Linked DNA regions of Homo sapiens: regions 1, 3 and 4 are each linked to region 2. The links are contacts of gene promoters, found by promoter capture Hi-C in blood cells and fetal thymus (Javierre and others, 2016). All regions are on one chromosome and are shown on one strand. The core of a region is centred on a gene start or on the middle of the fragment in contact, and the rest is flanking DNA. Distances in the headings are between cores, read along the strand shown.

The links. Contacts are between HindIII fragments. The CHiCAGO score rates a contact against its expected background, and 5 or more counts as called.
Region 1: a fragment that was not itself captured here is called in contact with the fragment with the promoter of ACP2 in region 2 in 3 of 17 cell types (naive B cells, total B cells and fetal thymus); the score reaches 5.6 in naive B cells.
Region 3: a fragment that was not itself captured here is called in contact with the fragment with the promoter of ACP2 in region 2 in 1 of 17 cell types (M1 macrophages); the score reaches 5.4 in M1 macrophages.
Region 4: a contact is called between a fragment that was not itself captured here and the fragment with the promoter of ACP2 in region 2, in 1 of 17 cell types (erythroblasts). The highest score is 6.3, in erythroblasts.

Annotation. Positions count from the first base shown.
Region 1 is chr11:46,930,126-46,932,825 of GRCh38, reverse strand. No RefSeq gene overlaps it. Among named protein-coding and RNA genes, the nearest start is that of CSTPP1, 5.3 kb to the left of the region's middle. The HindIII fragment of the contact is 2,128 bases long and covers 221-2,348 here.
Region 2 is chr11:47,247,513-47,250,212 of GRCh38, reverse strand. It overlaps ACP2 (acid phosphatase 2, lysosomal), which reads left to right and starts at 1,399. Exons shown (of 11, transcript NM_001610.4): 1 at 1,399-1,537; 2 at 2,080-2,175; 3 at 2,486-2,572. The coding sequence starts at 1,424. It also overlaps a transcript of NR1H3 not described here. RefSeq lists a silencer at 956-1,123 and enhancers at 1,204-1,713, 1,844-1,933. The HindIII fragment of the contact is 7,782 bases long and covers 839-2,700 here.
Region 3 is chr11:46,855,659-46,858,537 of GRCh38, reverse strand. LRP4 (LDL receptor related protein 4) reads left to right here. Exons shown (of 38, transcript NM_002334.4): 38 at 1-1,821. The region is part of intron 2 of LRP4-AS1 (LRP4 antisense RNA 1); the gene reads right to left. Among named protein-coding and RNA genes, the nearest start is that of LRP4-AS1, 11 kb to the right of the region's middle. The HindIII fragment of the contact is 2,101 bases long and covers 530-2,630 here.
Region 4 is chr11:46,905,335-46,908,272 of GRCh38, reverse strand. All of the region lies in intron 1 of LRP4 (LDL receptor related protein 4), which reads left to right. Among named protein-coding and RNA genes, the nearest start is that of LRP4, 12 kb to the left of the region's middle. RefSeq lists enhancers at 677-1,509, 1,510-2,344. The HindIII fragment of the contact is 1,309 bases long and covers 827-2,135 here.

The DNA.
Region 1 (2,700 bases), core at 35-2,534, 320 kb after region 2:
ATTTCTGATTTTATAATGAGAAAATTAATAGACATCTCTGGCTCTGCAGAAGACCTATTAAGAGATTGATAGGGAAGAAAATCCTCCCTATAATTGAAGACTATAGAAAAGCAAACGGTGAATACACTAAACAGTTTTAAACTTCAAGGAAGCAATAAGGAAAGAATAAATGCAGGCTGAATTATTGCTATAAAACAGGTTCAAGAAACTAGGACAAGCTTTTATCAACTGATCAAGCAGAAAAGATGCTAAAGGCAAAGTAGCTACTAAGAAATGCAGGTCATGAAATTCATGCTGAGCTACTAGGCTCTGCATGAAAGGCTTATCTTCCACAAGAGCACAGCAGAAACTAAGTGTGATGCCACTGTCTGGGATTCATATGTTTCAATTAAAAATGCTATTTATAGAAGGTAATTTTGTACTGCCACAAGCCAATGGACCAGAGCTTTGGAGTAATTTGTAAAGAAAAGAAATGTTCACAAACTCTTGGGCAGTTAAGAATAACTAATGCATTGTAAGAAACTAGTTAAGGGGATATGGCGTAAATTGAACTGAAGTTCAAAGGTAATTATGGACTGTACTTTCTTGTTATTCTATGTTTTCAAATGCTGCAATAAGAGTTGCAAATTACACATTCATATAGTTTGAAAGGGGGGATGATTTACTGATTCTTGGTAGCCCACAAAAATTAGTTATGCCTTCTTCTGTCCTAGACTATGCAGTTTTGTTTTGTTTTGTTTTGTTTTGTTTTGTTTTGTTTTTTTGAGACAGAGACTCGCTCTTTCACCCAGGCTGGACTGCAGTGGCGTGATCTCGGCTCACTGCAACCTCCACCTCCCGGGTTCAAGAGATTTTCCTGCCTCAGCCTCCCAAGTAGCTGGGATTACAGGCATGCGCACTGCACCTGGCTGATTTTGTATTTTTAGTAGAGACGGGGTTTCTCCATTTTGGTCAGGCTGCTCTCGAACTCCTGACCTCAGGTGATCCACCCGCCTCAGCCTCCTAAAGTGCTGGGATTACAGGCGTGAGCCACCGCGCCCAGCTAGTATGCACTTTTATAACCATTTATGTCTTTTTAAAAAATTCTTCCTACTAGATTGTGAGTTCCATGAGGGCAGAGACAGTCTTCATTCATCTTTAAATTTCTGGGACCATGTGCAGTGCCTGCAGAAATCAGTTATACAATAAACGTCTGTTAAATGAATTTGTTTCCCTCTAGATTAGAAGTTTAGAAAACAAAGACCTACCAATCAATAGGATTTATGGGCGCCTCATGGCAATCAATTCATTAAAAATATTTATTAAAGAAAAAGGTGGCCAAGTGTGGTGGCTCATGCCTTTAATCCCAGCTGCTCAGGAGGCTGAGGCAAAAGGATCAGCTGAGCCTGGGGTGATCATGCCACTGCACTCCAACCTGGAGCGAGACCCTATCTCAAAAAAAAAAAAACAAAAAAACCAAAACCAAAAACCCCAAAACGGCCAGAAAAACAAAAGGCATCATTGAGAAAGACATTAAAAGTCAATCAGAAAGCACTGGCAAATGCTTCCTACACCTAAATAACCATGTATAAAATACCCAGACTGACCGGGCGCAGTGGCTCACGCCTGTAATCCCAGCACTTTGGGTGGCCGAGGTGGGCAGATCACCTGAGGTCAGGAGTTCGAGACCAGCCTGGCCAACATGGTGAAACCCTGTCTCTACTAAAAATACAAAAATTAGCTGGACACGGTGGCACGCACCTGTAATCCCAGCTACTTAGGAGGCTGAGGCACAAGAATTGCTTGAACCTGGGAGGCAGAGGCTGCAGTGAGCTGAGATCGTGCCACTGCACTCCAGCCTGGGCGACAGAGCAAGACTCCATCTCAAAAAAAAAAAAAAAAAAGTGCCCAGACTAGGCATGGTGGCTCATGCCTATAGTCCCAGGATTTTGAGAGGCCAAGGCAAGAGGATTGCTTTAGCCCAGGAATTTGAGACCAGCCTGGACAACATAGTGAGACCCATCTCTACAAAAAATATGTTTAAAAATAAATAATTAAAATAAAAACTAGCCAGGTATGATGACACACACCTAAAGTCCCAGCTACTTGGGTGGCTGAGACGGGAGGATAACTTGAGCCCAAGAGTTCAAGGCTGCAGTGAGCCATGATCATGCCACTGCATTTCAGCCTGGGTAACAGAGTGAGACCCTGTCTCAAACAAACAAATTCCCAGGAAAAAAGCAACTAACAACAAAGTGTTTAGAGAGAATGCTTCGTGTACATAACAGAATTAGTTCAGAAGGATGAGAGAGAATGTGCTAGATATCAAATTTAAGATATGAACTGGGAGTTCCCAAATTTCAGAAGCTTAGGACAAGAAGCTGGAGTCTCTGTGTCTATTTTTTCTTTCTCCCCCAAATCATCCTCTACATTGTCACAAGAGTATGTCATTCTGAAGTTCAAATTTGACCATGTTACTTCCTTATTTAAAAAGTGTTGCTAGGCAATGCACAATGACTCACACCTGTAATCCCAGCACTTTGGGAGGCTGAGGTGGGGGGATCACTTAAGGACAGGAGTTTGAGATCAGTCTGATCAACATAGCAAGACACCATATCTACATTAAAAAAAAAAAAAGGTGTTGCTGCTGACTCACCATTACTAGGAAGAAGCAAAACTTCACATGCAGACATATAAATCCTTTCACAGCTTGGTACTAAC
Region 2 (2,700 bases), core at 150-2,649:
CTGGTCTCCAACTCCTGGGCTCAAGCAATCTTCCCACCCTGGCCTCCCAAAGTGCTGGGATTAGAAACGTGAGCCACCACACCAAGCCTAATCAGGTTTTTGTTGTTGTTGTTTTGAGACAGTCTCACTCTGTCGCGCAGGCTGGAGTGCAGTGGCGTGATCTCAGCTCACTGCAACCTCCGCTTTCCGAGTTCAAGCGATTCTCCTGCCTCAGCCTCCAGAGTAGCTGGGATTACAGGAGCACGCCACTGCACCCGGCTAATTTTTTTTTTTTTGTATTTTTAGTAGAGACGGGGTTTCGCCACGTTGGCCAGGCTGGTCTCGAACTCCTGACCTCAGGTGATCTGCCTGCTTCGGCCTCTCAAAGTGCTGGTATTACAGGTGAGCCACGGCGCCCAGGCCAAGCCTGATCAGTTTTGTTTCCCAAAGATCTGAGGAGATTTGCTTCCAGTAGGCAGATCTGAATCAAAGCATCCCCAGGACCTATGATCTGACCTGCAACCGTCACAGGAGTCACAAAGTCCTGAGGCCAAACTGGCTGCACCTGAATCCTAATGGTCAATGCCAAGAGGGCCATTGATTCTGTGGAAACCCCACCTACTCCCACTTTATGATATGCGCCTGTCCCTTACCTCAAAATACCTCCCCACTGGTCTGAAATTCCTCCCCCAGGGATTCAGTGCTTTGGGTTTGTAAAGTCTGAACATCCTGTGCAACCCAACTCCTTTGGGAAGAGGCATGACATGACGTCTTGACTCTAATTAACTAAAACTTGGAAGTGGAGGGGAGGGAGGACAGGGAAAGGACTGGAAGGGAAAGTGAGAGGGCTACTGAAGCTTTGTGCAGGGCAGGAACGGTAGGCCAGACTGGGGCAACCTCAAGGACACACGGAGTCCAAAGGGTTGTTTACATACTGTGTCCTGCACCCCAAGCAAAACATCTCCTGGAGAACAGGGCCAGGGCTCAATCTCCCCACAAAGGCAGGGGCGTGGAGAGAAGCGACCTCTACTTTCCCATCCCTCGCCTCAATTCTGCACCCGATCTAGCTATGGGGTCAAGCCTGGAGGGGACGCTGGTTCTCCAGACATGGTCCCGCCCACTGCAAGTGCCACCTTGGTAAGGGATTTCTCCGAGCAGAGGCAAACGCGAATTTGTGGCCTTCTTAATCAAGATGAGGTCTTCGAGCCCTGTCTGCCGCGCCAGGTCGCGTTACCTTCTTATGCTCCTCCGCCACAGCCAGACCACGACCCTCCTGCACGCAATCCCACCGAGACTGCGCCTTTTCCCCGCACCCCAGCAGGTCCCTAAGTAAGATGGCGGCGAACGCACTTCCGGCGTGTGTCCTTACGGGTGCGTCCGGGCGGCTGCTTGCAGGTGCCACCCAGCGGGTTCCAGCTTGTTTGCTGCATAGATTACAACGGTGATGGCGGGCAAGCGGTCCGGCTGGAGCCGGGCGGCTCTCCTCCAGCTCCTTCTCGGCGTGAACCTGGTGGTGATGCCGCCCACCCGGGCCCGGAGTCTGCGCTTCGTTACCTTGGTAATGAGAGATGGGCTCACCAAAGACTTCCCTGAAGCTAAAAGGGCAAAGGCCAGCTGGTGGAGGTCGAGGATCTCGGGAAGGAACAGCTGGTTTAGGAGGGGACGACTGGCCTGGGTAGTTGGGAGGCTGGATTCAGGATTGACCTGGAGCCCTGGCTTATGGGAGTCAGGATGACCGAATACGTCGGGGTGAGTCTGCCTTGAGACAGGGAAGTGGTTGAATGGTTAAGACTCATCCCTAAAGAAGCCTTTGGTTATCTTTTTTCCCCAGTTGTCCCCACCACATACGTTGCTTTCACTTCTCTTTTCCCTTCCTACCTGTACCTTGGCTTTGCCTATGGTCTCCAGTAGCATTGCTTAGCTAAGTTAGAATCTCTGGAATCTGGAAGAAGTGACTGACTCCTAGCTGGGGTCTTTTGCAGCCAGTAGGCTTCCCAGAGGGAATGAGACTTCCTTCCCTAACATGGGGCAAAAGGTAGGCTCTGGGTCCCTATCAAGGGGATGCTTCTGACCTATAGGCAAACCATTTTATTCTCTCAGCTGTACCGCCATGGAGACCGTTCACCAGTGAAGACATATCCCAAGGACCCCTATCAGGAAGAAGAATGGCCCCAGGGGTTTGGTCAGTTAACCAAGGTGGGTCAGAAGCCAGCCTTTCCTCAGGATGAGCTGCAGAATGAGCGACGTCTAGAGCAGTCTACAAAACTTGGGGTCCTACTAAACTGCCTTTTCCCATATGGGTGCTGACTTTGACCAGATTTCATAACCTTAATCTCTGTGCCCATGATATTGCTGTGCATGACTGGCCACTTAATGAAAGACTTCTGGGATCAGATTAATTGACTCCAGCAAAGCGTGAACCTGGAAAGCAACAGGGCCTAAACCCCATGGGGCTTGAAGCCACCCCTTCCCTCTAGACCCTCTTAACCCTTGGGTTTGCCCACAGGAGGGGATGCTACAGCACTGGGAACTGGGCCAGGCCCTGCGGCAGCGCTATCACGGCTTCCTAAACACCTCTTATCACCGGCAAGAGGTAAGGTTGGGAGCTCCAGAGGCAAGGGGAACAAGGTATGCTGCCCTCATCTTTTGCCCTCAGGGAGCCTAAGGCTGAGGCTGGGCACTTTGGCCTCCTTCTTGTATTTTTGGTCACAACTACAGGAA
Region 3 (2,879 bases), core at 331-2,830, 390 kb after region 2:
TGGGTAAAGACAGGGATGAAGGATAGAGGCTGAGAGAAGAAGGAAGAATCAGCCCAGCAGGTATGGGCATCTGGGAAACCTCCAGCCTCAAGTGTGTTAGTAACATGAAAAAGCTTTGGGGGGTAGTTGGATCTGGGTGTCTGGTCCATTGCTGGCAGTGGACATTATTCTTGCCCTAAGAGACACTGCCTTTTCAGCAGCAGATACTGGTGAGATGGGGGTGGCTCAGGCTGTTCTTCCTCCTCCTAGAATGTCTGGAGCTGTTTCTACATTCAGATAACTGGGTCCCCTATCACAAGGCTACTGGCTAATAGGAATTCCCTCCTGGTGCCACCACTGGCCAGTACCTTTCCTAAGTCTTTGCTCAAATTAACCAGGTTGTGAGCCAGTGGCTTGAGTGAATGTTAGGCCTTGGGGGCTGAGTCTCTGAAAAGTCTAAGAAGCTCTGCCTAGACCAAATATGGTATACCTCCTGACCCCTCTCTCCCTCATGTCCTGGGATTCTGGGGAAGAGACCTAGAAACAAGCTTTCAAAGAAAAACCAGAAGTTGTCATAAATGGTCAGAAAGAACGATCAGGTTGGAGACTTGGGAAACCCAGGGCCTAAAGAGAAGTATCCATGAGGGTCAAACTTCCTGTTGAACTTCCTATGTTCTTTCTCAAGTGCTCAGGGATCTAAGTTAGTGGACAGCAAGCCTGTGGCTACGGGGTGGTGATGTTCCTCTTCCAGCTGTCCCCTCAGCTAAGGGGCTTAGTTTCCATGTGGGATGCCATCACTTGGTTCATGCTCATTCACACAAAGGGCACGTGTCTCAGCCTGGTATCAGGGAAATTGAGACTTATTTTTGCCCTAAAACGTCTCCCTAGCTGTTCTTCGTGGGGTTTTTTTGTTTGTTTTTTTGCCTAATTTGCTTTTTCTGACCAAGCCTTGTGGCACCAGCAATCTCCAAAGTCCTGTGGTGGGAGGGCTGAATAAATAAAAATACAAAGAGGTGGGTAAGGAGTAGGAAGGTAGAGAGCACCACTGATGAGGCCCTCCTAGCCCATGGCAGACCCAGACCTCTTCTCCCCCAGGAATTAGAAGTGGCAGGAGAGAACAACAGGGGCTGGGAATGGAGGGGAGAATTTCTAGGGGAAGTTTCCTGAGTTGAAACTTCTCCTGTGGTTACTGGTATTGAGAAATCAGCTACCAAAGTGAAAAAGGACAAGATCAATTCTTTTCTAGTCAGTTCTAAGACTGCTAGAGAGAGATACCAGGCCCTTAGCCTTGCTCTCAGTAGCGTCAGCCCCAGTTCTGAGCCTCCCCACATTACACTTAACAAGCAGTAAAGGAGTGAGCACTTTGGGTCCTTAGACTCACGTCTGGGGAGGAAGAGCAAGTAGAAAAGTGGCATTTTCTTGATTGGAAAGGGGGAAGGATCTTATTGCACTTGGGCTGTTCAGAATGTAGAAAGGACATATTTGAGGAAGTATCTATTTGAGCACTGATTTACTCTGTAAAAAGCAAAATCTCTCTGTCCTAAACTAATGGAAGCGATTCTCCCATGCTCATGTGTAATGGTTTTAACGTTACTCACTGGAGAGATTGGACTTTCTGGAGTTATTTAACCACTATGTTCAGTATTTTAGGACTTTATGATAATTTAATATAAATTTAGCTTTTCTTAATCACCTTGCCTGGCTTGGAGTCATGACTAATCCTGCACCTGCTCTGTCTGGCAGACCCATGCTGTGGAAAACCTGCTTACAGACATCACTTTTAAGTCCTTTGTGGATGTGGGCACAGTGAAGAGCAATAAAGAGTGTGAGGTTCCTGCTGGAGTTTTCAGCTCATCTGGAGAAGACAGGTCGAGGCCAGAGTTCCTTGACTGATGAAACCTTTATTTCCTCTGGAAGAGGAATGGTAGATGGGTTTCCTCTTGAGTGCTGACTCTGACTGGTTGGTAGTGGCTGCCTGAGGGCCTATTCGCACCCAATGGGAAGAATGTCATATGGCTAGTGACATCTCTTCTGTGCACTGGAAGGAAATGTCATGGCATGTATACCATGTATCTTCTATTTCTGTTCTAGGTCTTTGTTACAGAACTTTACTTTGCCTTGCAGTGATGGTCACTGGCAAGACTATCTCATGTAGTAAGAAAAGTACTGGAGCTGGGGACATGGAGGGCTAATTCCAGTCCCAGATCTGCCACTAGCTCTGTTTGATCTTAGTCAACTTTCATAGTTAGTCTGAGAGTGGATCAAATTATCACTAGGATTTCATTTATTTTTAAAAGCTGTCTTTTCATAGCTCATCCACTACTTCTCAAGGCTAGAACAAGGAGCTAGGGATCCCTTCTCAGGTTCTCTGGATGTGATATCCCTCAGTGAAAACTGGGAATCATGTTAATCTCAACGCCCGATGTAGAATTTCATGTCAAGTCTCAATAGTTGATTTTCTAAACCACACACCATCTATAGGATAATATCCCCATTCATTCATTCATTCATTCATTCATTCATCTGCTATGGGCTAGGCACTGCCCATGCCTAAACAAAGACATAATCTTACAGAGCTTAGAGTCTAGCAACACCATTACCACCACCATCCCAAAAAAAGACAAAAAATGAAAGTAAGAAAGACTGAAGCTTCTTGTATTTAAGTGACCAGAGATCTGAGTATAAGCTACAGTGTATAATTTTTCTAACTGTAGTAAGGAGTAGGTGTGCCAGAACAAAAACAAGTAGAATAGCCCAAGGATAACCATCCCTCCAACCCCCACTGTTCTCTTTGGGAGGGAAAAAAAAAGCAGAAAAGGAGGACATCTTGGGATAAAACAAAGGTTGGGAATTCCTTGTCTAGTTCTCTGGTATAAAATCTGAAACTAGGGTCAGGCACA
Region 4 (2,938 bases), core at 232-2,731, 340 kb after region 2:
AAAGTACTCGGAGGGCACCTGGTAAGTATTTAATAAATGATGGGGCCAGGCGCAGTGGCTCACGCCTGTAATCCCAGCACTTTGGGAGGCCGAGGTGGGCGGATCATGAGGTCAGGAATTTAAGACCACCCTGGCCAACATGGTGAATCCCCGTCTCTACTAAAAATACAAAAATTGGCCAGGTGCAGTGATGGGTGCCTGTAATCCCAGCTACTCAGGAGGCTGAGGCAGGAGAATTGCTTCTCGGGAGGCGGAGGTTGCCGTAAGCTGAGATCGCGCCACTGCACTCCAGCCTGGGCAACACAGCAAGATTCCATCTCGGAAAAAAAAAAGATGGTTATATTATTATGAAGCTTTTGCTGTGTGTTAGCCCTGTGCTAAGCAGTTTATATGGGTTAATCTTTACAAAGCCCTTTGAGTTAGAACTGTTAATATTCCCATTTTATGGATGAGGAAACTGAGGCCTGGAGGGATTAACTAACTTGCTCAAAATTGCGGAATTTGTGGTAGAACCAAGATTTGAACCTTCATCTCTCTGACTTTAGAATCTATGTTGTCTACTACTAAGTTAGTGTGTCTTGTATACCAGATGGATGTTTCCCTTCTTTCCTTTATATCAGGGCTGTCCAGACTTTTGGCTTCCCTGGGCTACACTGGAAGAAGGATTGTCTTGGGCCACACATAAAATACATGAACATTAACAACAGCTGATGAGCTAAGAAAAAAGAAATCGCAAGTAATCTCATGTTTTAAGGAAGTTTACGAATTTGTGTTGGGCCACATTCAAAGCCATCCTGGGCCATGCAAGTCTCAGGTTGGACAAGCTTGCTTTATATGAAAGCCGTGAGAAAGTGGTAAGATGGCGGGAGTGGGAGAGATGAGATGTAAAAGGTAAGATTTTAGTTAACCTCTAGAGAAACATCCTATGAGCACATTAACATATATCCCAAAAGCTGGATGGCTTCATGATCAAAGATACCTTGCGGACAGACCTTTTCCATAGTGAATTGCATTAGGTGGAGGGGCTAGAGCCCAGGCCCCTGGAGGCTAAGGGAGCTTGCGATGTGGCTGGCAGCTTTCAAGGCCAGAGCATAGTGAAGTGTTCTAATTCAACACTTCTTAAAATGAAGGCTGCATTTTGCCACCCACAGTCATTTGTTTTCTTTCTTCACTCACCATTCTTTTCCTTAAAAAGGGTTAAAAGCTGCCTTTATGATCACAGCCAGGACTTGAGTGAAAAGGCAGAATTCCACCTCTGAGGACCCCAGAGGGACAGCAGTTGCCCAGAAGAGCTGGCTTTTTGGAGTATAATGTGTCTGTTTACTGTATGAATGCCCAAGTCAAGCGTTTGCCTGACCGGTGGCTGCCCGCCCTTCACTGCAGCGGACGCTGAGATGTTGATTTGACATGCAGGAAGTCGAGGCCCTTCAACTGCCTGCAACTAACTTGATGCCCACCGATGGAATGCTTTGTTCCTACAGTCTGCGCGGGGGAAATCGGGACTTCTGTTATCACTCAGCCAAAGGCGGGGGTGGGGCCCTAAAAAAACAAACGGAGCTTAAGGTTCTTCCCTACCAGTATGACTTTTCATTTGCACGCAGCCCCAGGACACTGCTCTACTTGCTCTATTCTGGTACTCTGATTCTTAATATCAAGGCCTTTTGGAAAAATTTAGCCTCCACAGCCCTGCATCTGCACAGCCCTGCATCTGCACACCCCAGCCTCCATTATTGAACATCTTTGGTGTGCCAAGGCATAAGATTAGTTTTTTCCACCTTTATTTTCTTGTCTAATCTTTGTTGCTTTTTTTTTTTTTCGAGACAGAGTCTCGCTGTGTTGCCCAGGCTGCAGTGCAGTGGCGTGATCTCTGCTCATTGCAACCTCTGCCTCCATGGTTCAAGCAATTCTTTTGCTTCAGCCTCCCAAGTAGCTGGGACTACAGGCGTGCGCCACCACGCCCAGCTAATTTTTGTATTTTTAGTAGAGACAGGTTTTCACCATGTTGGCCAGGCTGGTCTCAAACTCCTGACCTCAAGTGATCTGCCCGCCTCAGCCTCCCAAAGTGCTAGGATTATAGGCATGAGCCACCATGTTCAGCCCCTTGTGGCTTTTTTACAAACAAGAAAACTGAAGCTTAAGGGGCTACGTGACTTGCACAAGGTCAACTGGCTGGTCGATGGAACCCAAGTCTGTCTGCTCCAGGTCCAGTGCTTTGTCCTCTGCCTAACCTCCTCCTCCTATTCCCCCCTACTTCCTCTCTGTCCTTTCCACAGCTTTCATCCTGAACTCCCGTCTGGTACATCCCCACTCCCTACTGTGTGTGGTTAGCAGCATTTCTCAACCTCTGTTGATGTTTTGGGCCAGATAATTCTTTGTCATAGGGGCCTGTCTGCATGTTATAGATTTTTTTTTTTTTTTTTGAGACGGAGTTTCGCTCCTGTTGCCCAGGTTGGAGTGCAATGGCATGATCTCCCCTCACCGCAACCTCTGCCTCCTGGGTTCAAGCAATTCTCCTGCCTCAGCCTCCCAAGTAGCTGGGATTACAGGTGCCCACCACCATACCCGGCTCATTTTTGTATTTTTAGTAGAGACGGGGGTTTCACCACATTGGCCATGCTGGTCTTGAACTCCTGACCTCAGGTGATCCGCCCACCTGGGCCTCCCAAAGTGCTGGGATTACAGGCGTGTAATCCTGTATAGAATTATACACGTTATAGAGTCTTTAGCAGCATCCCTAGCTTCTACCCACCAGATGTCGGTAAGCACCGCCAAGCAGGACAACCAAAAATGTCTCCAAACATTGCTAAATGTCCTCCGGGGGACAAAATATCCCCAGTTGAGATCCTTATTAGCCTTATCCTTTTTCTTCACCATGATACCCCATGAAGGGGATCTGTGTACCGGGGAGTCCCATCACATGGAGTGGAATTAAACATCT